Regions from separate parts of the Homo sapiens genome. Here region 1 is linked to region 2. The links are contacts of gene promoters, found by promoter capture Hi-C in human tissues and cell types (Jung and others, 2019). All regions are on one chromosome and are shown on one strand. Each heading gives the region's core, a stretch centred on a gene start or on the middle of the fragment in contact. The rest is flanking DNA. Distances are from core to core; before and after follow the strand shown.

Region 1 (4,409 bases), core at 1,609-4,108, 200 kb before region 2:
TAATAACTTCTCAAACCAGAAATCACTAGGCCCAGATGGGTTCACTGGTGAATTATACCAGATATTTAAATAAGAAATGAATCCAATTCTCTATAATCTCCTTTAAAGGATAGAAACAGAAAGAATGCTTCCAAACTCATTCTATGAGGCCAGCATTACTCTAACAAAAAAACCAAGGACAGTAAAAAACAACAAAAAAAAGACAACTAGAGACTAATATTTCTCATGTAGACAGATGCAAAAATCCTCAATAAAATATTAATAAGTTGAATCCAACAATGTACGAAAGAAATTATACACCTTGACCAGGTGGGATTTATCCCAGGTATGCAAGGCTGATTCAACATTTAAAAATCAATTAATGTAATCTATCCCATCAATAGGCTAAAAAATATCAATAGATACTGAAAATCATTTGACAAAATACCACATCCATTCATAATAAAAATTCTCAGTAAACTAAGAACAGAGAACTTCTTCAACTTCATAAAGAATATCTACCAAAAACCTACATCTAACATCACACTTAATGGTGAGAAATTTAAAGCTTTCCCACTAAGATCAGGAACAAAGCAAGGATATCCCCTTTCACTGCTGCTTTTCAACATTATACTGGAATTCCTAGCTAATGCAATAAGACAAGAAAAGGAAATAAAAGGTATACAGATTGGTAAAGAAGAAACAAAACTGACTTTGTAGATGACATGATTGTCTACATAGAACATTTGAAAGAATTTACCAAAAAAAAAAAACCTTCTGGAACAAACAGTGATTTTAGCAGGATTGCAGAATTCAAGGTCAATATACAAAAGTTAATCACTTTCAAGGTTAATACATAAAAGTTAATCACTTTCCTATATACCAACAATGAACAAGTGGAATTTGAAATTAAAAACACAATATCATTTACATTAGCAACCCAAAAATGAAACAGGTATAAATCTATCAAAATAAGTACAAGGTCTATATGAGGAAAATGACAAAACTCTAATGAAGGATATCAAAGAAGAACTAAATAAATGGAGAGCTATTCCATGTCCATGGATAGGAAGACAATACTGTCCAGGTGTCGGTTCTTCCCAATTCGATCTACACATTCAGTGCAACCCCAATCAAAAGTGCAGCTAATTATTTTGTGTATATCAACAAAATGATTCTGAAATTTACATAGAAAGGCAAAAAAACTATAATAAACAATAATTTATTGTATTTTTTAAACAGCTAGAAGAGAGGATTCTGAATTTTACCAACACCAAGAAATAATAAAGGTTTGAAGTGACTGATATGTGAATTACCCTGATTTGATCATTATAAAGTGTATACATGTATTGAAACATCACACTGTATGTATGAAAAGCAAAAGACCTTTCATATATACATAGAAATATTTCATATTTCATATACTGAGAAGAGCCAACTCAGTATTGAAAGAGAAGAACAAAGTTGAAGGGGTAACAGTTCCCTACTTCAAGACTTACTATGAATCTATAGTAATCAAGACAGTGCTGTGTTGGAAAAAGAAGAGACAAACAGAACAATGGAACAGAATAGAGAGCCCAGAAATAGACCCACATAAATACAGCCAACAGATCTTTGACAGAGGAGCAAAGACAATACAATGAAGAAAATAGTCTTTAACAAATGGTGCTATAGAACAACTGGACATTCACATGCAAAAAAACAAATGAATCTGGACATAGACCTTACACCCTTCACACAAAAGTTAACTCATAACTGATCACAAACCTAACTGCAAAATGCAAAGCTATATAATTCCTAGAAGATAACATAGAAGAAAACCTAGATGACCTTGGGTATGGCAATGAATTTTTAGATACAACAAAAAAAGCATGATCTATGAAAGAATAACTGAAAATCAGGACTTCACTGGAATTAAAAACTTCTCTGAAATGGATAATGTCAAGTGAATGAGAAGATAAGCCACAAACCGGGAGAAAATAAACGCAAAAGACAAATCCGATAAAGAACTGCTATCTAATATATACAAAAGAAAATAACCCGATAAAAAATTGGGCCAAAGATGTCAACAGATGCCTCACCAAAGAGGGACATACCGATGGCAAATAAGCATATAAAAATACTCCACATCACATCATCAGGAAAATGCACATTTAAACAACAATGAGATTATTTGCACACCTATGAGAATGGCTAAAGTCCAGAACATGGAAAACACCAAATGCTGGTGAGGATGTGGAGCAACAGGAACTCCCATTCATTGCTGGTGGGAGTGCAAAATGGTGCAGCCTTTTTGGAAGACAATTTGGCAGTTTCCCACAGAACTAAACATACACTTACCATATGATTCAGAAACTGTACTCCTTGGTATTTACCAAAATAAGCTGAAAATTGTTCATCACACAAAAATTGCACATGGATGTTTACAGCAGCTTTATTCATAATTGCAAAATATGAAAGCTACAAAGACGTGCTTCAGTAGGTGAACTGATAAATAAAACTGTGGTGCATCCAGATGACAGAGTGTGATCCAGCACTAAAAAGAAGTGAGCAAGCAAGCCATGAAAAGACACAGAGGAAGCTTAAACACATGCTATGCAGAGAAAGATGCCAATCTGAATAGGCTGCATGCTGTGTGATTCCAACTCTATGATCTCCTGGAAAAGGCAACACTATGGAGACAGTAAAGAAACCAGTGGTTGACAGGAGTTAGGAAGGAGAGAGGGATGAATAGGCAGATTCTTAAGGCAGTGGAACTACAGTATGTAGAGAACATACACTATGATGCTGTCATGGTGGATGATGCCATTATAGGCCTGTCAGAACCCATAGAAGGCACACCACCAAGAGTGAATGCTGATAAACTGTGGACTTTGGTGATGATGATGTGTCAATGTAGGTTCATCAACAATGGTAACAGTAACAAACGTACCACTCTGGTGGAAGATAGGGACAGGGGGCCAGGAGGCACAAGGGAAATCTCCATACTTTCCTCACAATTTTGCTGTGAACCTAAAACTGCTCTTTAAAAAGAATTTGTTTAAGTAAACTTTCAGAAAAGCTGCACATATCGTTATAAGAGTGTTCAGTTACTTTGTATGTTTCTAAAATAACACATCTAGCATCAACAAGAAGGTTAATGAGGCCAGGAACTGCTGTCCACTGAGTACATGAAATGGTAGTCTAGGCTACTGGGCCCACAGATCCAGTTAATGCTTGTGTGTCATTCTGAGTTATTTTTATTGTTATTGTATTTTATATTATTTATTTATTTATTTATTTTGAGATAGGGTATCACTCTGTCACCCAGGCTGGAGTGCAGTGGCACAATCTCGGCTCATTGCAACCTCCACCTCCTGGGTTCAAGCAATTCTCCTGCCTCAGCCACCTGAGTAGCTAGGACTACAGGCATGTGCCACCATACTCAGGCTAGTTTTTGTATTTTTAGTAGAGATGAGGTTTCACCATGATTTCCAGGCTGGTCTTGAACTGCTAACCTCAAGTGATCCACTCGCCTCAGCCTCCCAAAGTGCTGGGATTACAGGTGTGAGCCACCACACCTGGCCTTATTTTATTTTTGAGACAGGGTCTTTCTCTGTTGCCCAGGCTGGAGTGCAGTGACTCAATCACAGCTCACTGCAGCCTTGACCTCCTGGGCTCAAGCAATCCTCCCACCTCAGCATCCCAAGTAGCTGAGACCACAGGCATGCGCCACCACGCCTGGTTAACTTTTGTATGTTTTGTAGAGACGGGGTCTCACTATGTTGCCCAAGCTGGTCTTGAACTCCTGGACTGAAGCAATCTGCCTACCTCGGCCTCTCAAAGTGGAGGGTTTACAGGTGTCAGCCACCGCACCTGGACATTTTGAGTTATTTTTATGTGGGCATAGATTAAAATAAATAAAGAACATAAACTCTTCTAAGGAAAAATAAATGAGGAAAAATACTATAAAATTCCAAAGGCGTTTGAGCTGGCATGTCCATTCATGCTATTTTGGAAAGGTGAATGAGTCCCCACTTTATAAATACAAATCATACTTCAGTTGGATGAAACTACTACAGTAAACAAACTGATTTCTACCACCCCTACAGCTAATGAACTGGGACTCATAAGGCTCCAATCACTTCGCTAAGTAATTTAGACACAGAGAGACCCCACGCTCACCCTCACTGGGCCCCCTTATCTGGGTTACGTTTTTCACAGAACTTACCACTATCTCTCCTGATTTACTCCAGGCACCTCCTAGTTGGTCTCCTGTGTCCAACCTCTTCCTCTAGTTTTTTCTCAACATAACAACCTGAGTGACTCTGTTAAAACAAGAGGAGGATCCAGTACTTTAGGAGGCCAAGGTGGATGGATTACCTGAGGTCACGAGTTCGAGACCAGCCTGGCCAACATGGTGAAACCCTGTCTCTACTAAAAATACAAAA
Region 2 (4,062 bases), core at 1,212-3,711:
ATGATCTCGGCTCACTGCAACTTCCTCCTCCCGGGTTCAAGCAATTCTCGTGCCTCAGCCTCCCTGAGTAGCTGGGATTACAGGTGCCTACCACCAAGCCCGGCTAATTTTTGTATTTTTAGTAGAGACGGGGTTTTGGCATGTTGGCCAGGCTGGTTTTGAACTCCTGACCTCAGGTGATCCATCCGCCTTGGCCTCCCAAAGTGGGGATTACATGCATGGGCCACTGCACCCGGCTGTATTTAAGAATTTCAATGCATGTGCACAAGTGAGAACAATCACGTTTTCCAATTTTAGTAATCTACTTCGCATTTTGTTACCTTTGATCGCAACAACAGGAACTCATTCGTGTTAAGCCAAAGTATAATTTATTGGAAAGATACAGTTTACATAACAGCAGAGAAGGCTGATGAACCAGATTCAGAAAGACACAGGGAACACTTTAGCTTCTCATCTTCAATGTGAATAAACCTCAATCATTTTCTTTGCATTATTTCAAAGAATTCATCTAATTAGCTTAGTTTGGGTCTCATCCTTATTAAAAAGTTAAGGGAAGTAGCTGACAATCTCACCAAAGCTCTATACAATTGCAGATGAGTTAATTCTCTAAAAGTTAACTGAGGTGCTACCACTAGAAAAAAAGAAATGGAGGCAAGACAGATAAAATCAAGAGATGGTCATATTGATGAAACAGTATGTCTTAAATTTTCCTATGCTCCAAAATAGGGAAATTAACAGCTACCTTAAATTAGAAATAACTAAGTGAACAGTTTCCTCAGGTACATTTAGTGAGCATTTGTAGAGTCCTTTCTCAATTTCTTCCCAATTATTGTTCTATTCAAATTTCTCACCTCTAAAAGAATCAACTTTAAAGATAGCTATAATTGATCACATCCATATCAAATACTAATAATTACTTTGGTCCATGTCCCCTCACTCCCAGATTTTAACCTATATACCAGGTGCACCTATGTGTCTCCTCATTTTGAGTTCAGGCTCATTGAATTTTAAAGACCACTTCAGACCTCAGATAGGCAGTAAGTTTATAAAAGCCACCCTTGTCTGCCTCAATATATAGAAATTTTTCTTTACTGTTGGTGACCTGTTACTCAGACTCATTGCCAAGAAATACAGCATAGTGTTTGGGAGTGTGAAGTTTTAAGTCCAACTGATTTAGGTTTCTAGCCCTGCTCTGCTCTTTTTCTTAGCTGTGTAAACTTGGCCTGTTTGCTTTTCCTCCTTTATTTAGTTCGTTCTTTCCTCTGTAAAATGTAGACACCAGGGAAACAAGAACCTGAAATTTCGCCATTATTTTGAGAATTCTCTTTTTAAGAGTAATCTTAAAATGTTTTAGGGTCTTCAAAAAATTGTTTTGCCTGTCATCTCTATCTTCATCCTATTATAGGTCCACGAAGTAAGTACGAAGAGAAACCAGTATAGGCCAATTGGACCGAGTACTAGCATACAGGTTCTGGTCCCAGCTCTATCATTACAGCTTTGTATCCTTGGGCAAACTAATTTTCTGTTAAAGTATCAATAAAATATAGAGTCTTTAATACATTAACGGTTTTCAAAGCCTAATCATATAGAAATACCTGTTATACCACCAATAAAACTGAATAATGACCCTTTCCATCAATATCAGTAAGTTTTGGACAGGGTATTTTCAACTTAAGTTTTTTTCTCCTGTACATTCTTCAAATATCCAGACTGCTGATGTTTTAAAAACCCAAAACATGGCACTATTCTGCCTGGTTTATCAAATTATTTTTTTAATACAACACACTCATTTTTCGCTAGCAAAACTGCTTATAATGGCACTAAATACACTAACATACTGTGTTTTAGTACAAAGCAATAATACTCAGAGTACTCTCAGGAAATCCGCAAGCTGAGTAAATTTGAAAAGAAGATCTTGTAACCACCCTTCCAATCGACTTATGTAGGGTTCTATGGCCCTAATTAAAAAACAAGAAAACTTTAGCACTCAAGTCCAAAGGGGACTGCCCAACTCAGTCTCAGGCTTCAATTTCGCATCTGGGGAAAAAAGAAACACAAAAGGGAGATGCTGCCTCCTTGGCTCTGGGGGTGGTGACGGGAGCGGGGCCCACTGGGGAGCGATTTCACTTAAACGGTCGGACATAGCCGTCTCGGGCCCCTAGCAGTCTCCGCACTCACTGCCTCCTTCTCGAACATGCTAGGCCTCCTTTCTTTCCTAGGCGTCACCGGAGCCTGCTGAGGGGTCTGGTTCGGGGTCTGGATGGGGCTCGACTTCACGCCTCGGCCTCGCTTCTCCATCTCGCTCTGTTCTCCAAGACGCCCACCGCCTCCCCTTCACCGCCGGCGGTCAAACGCCCTAGCCAGTCCCGCGAGGGCGGAAGTCTCCCACCTGCGCCTCGTACGGTAGGAAGTGCCCGCCAGGGCTCCAAAGCGCCTGGAGGAGGGGCGCGCAGGCGCCTGCGTCATTCACGCGCGCCGCAGCGGGGCACCGGAAGTTATGGAGGTAGGGCGGGTGTAGGGCCCGGTTCGATCCCGAGCTAGGCAGGGAGTCGGCGCCAGGCTGGGTGGTGCTCGGCTACGCGGAGTGGGCGAGCGAGCACGCGCCTGCGGTGGCCGGCGGTCCCGCGCTGGAGGGCGCTGGCGACGTCGCGGCCCTGGCCTCTGTGGCGGTATCGGACGCTCGGCCCTGCAAGACGCCTGGCGGGCCCTGCCGGCCTCCCTGGGCCAGGCTCGGTTTCTCCGTCGCCTCCTGGCCCTGAGCTGGAACGCGGCGGACGGTCAGGGAGGGCTGTGCGCGGTGGCGCGGGGGCGGAAAGCCGCAGGTCGGGCTCTCACCTGACCGTGGCTCGTTCCTAGAAGCGCAGTTTCCTAGTCGCTGCCTGTAGGGTCCACACTCGGACAGTAAATTTGTGTTCATCGCCGGGCGTGGTGGGGCCTGTGGTCCCATCTACTCCGTAGGCTGAGGTGGAAGGATCGCTTTAGCCCAGGAGGTGGAGGCTGCAGTGAGCCGAGATCGCGCCACTGCACCCCTGTCTGGGCGACGGCGAGACCCCGTCTCCAAAATGATGATAACGATAACTACCATTTTTGAGTACTATGTGCTAGATGCTTTTCATGTGTTATCTGATTACTGTAGCCCTACCAGGTGCAGCCTGGCACCGTTTTATTTCACTTAGAACTGAGATTCCGATAAAGTAACTTTTCCAAGGCAAGAGGTAGTCAGAGGCTGAGGAATGATTCAAATTTAAGTCCAGCTCCAAAGCACCGGCCCAGTGTAGTCTGCAGAGTTCCAGCCCCATAGAGCCACATGGAGGATGCGAGTGACAATCGCCAATCAACAAATAGTTGATGTAGATTTCTTTAGTGATGACTTAATTGTTAGGGCCTGCTGGGATTGTTCGAAAACCAGGGCTGAGAGTGGAAAGTGCAACTTCTGGGTGCAGGAGGAGCAAACAGGGCAACTGATAGCAGTTTCCACATTAGGAAGCTGCCCAGAGCTAATTATGACTGTCACAACACAGCCCCCCCTTAACTCAACACACCAAAATAAAGAGCTTCGGTTCCGCTTTAGATCCTGAATTTGACTTCTTTGCAGGTTTATACGATGGTCTTAGTGTCATGTGGGGTAATTGTGAGGATTTCGATTGTATTTAATTCTCCATGGAAAACCAGTACGGTTTGCTACTTTTTACATGGCAGGGAAGGCTAAACTTTACCTCTGCCCATCTTAGTTCGGAGTGACCCCTTTAACAAATGAAAGGATAACAAGAAAAAAGTTTATTCTTGGACAGAGTACACATCACAAGGGATAAACCTTAATGAGAAGTAACTTGAAATGGTGGCTTAGAACTACATTTGTATACCATCTTCAACAAAGAACTGTAGATTTGCAGAGAAGTGACAGGACACAGGAGAGCAGTTTTAGGCTTCAAAGGGCAGGAAATTGGGAAGGTAGATACATATTCGGAAACTAATGGAGTAAGAATTGTTTGCAGATTCCCCTGGTACCTTAACTGGTCTGGTAAGTCTAAAGTTATCCCCAGTAAAGAATTTATATCCTGT

The links. Contacts are between HindIII fragments. The study calls those that stand out against the background at their distance.
Region 1: a contact is called between a fragment that was not itself captured here and the fragment with the promoter of ERMARD in region 2, in 2 of the 25 tissues and cell types used here (IMR-90 fibroblasts and lymphoblastoid cells).

What each region holds. Positions count from the first base shown.
Region 1 is chr6:169,547,176-169,551,584 of GRCh38, forward strand. All of the region lies in intron 25 of WDR27 (WD repeat domain 27), which reads right to left. Among named protein-coding and RNA genes, the nearest start is that of WDR27, 150 kb to the right of the region's middle. The HindIII fragment of the contact is 8,324 bases long and covers 1-4,409 here.
Region 2 is chr6:169,749,161-169,753,222 of GRCh38, forward strand. ERMARD (ER membrane associated RNA degradation) reads left to right here and starts at 2,462. Exons shown (of 18, transcript NM_018341.3): 1 at 2,462-2,503. The coding sequence starts at 2,498. DYNLT2 (dynein light chain Tctex-type 2) reads right to left here and starts at 2,412. Exons shown (of 4, transcript NM_174910.3): 1 at 2,179-2,412. The coding sequence starts at 2,298. The HindIII fragment of the contact is 9,893 bases long and covers 1-4,062 here.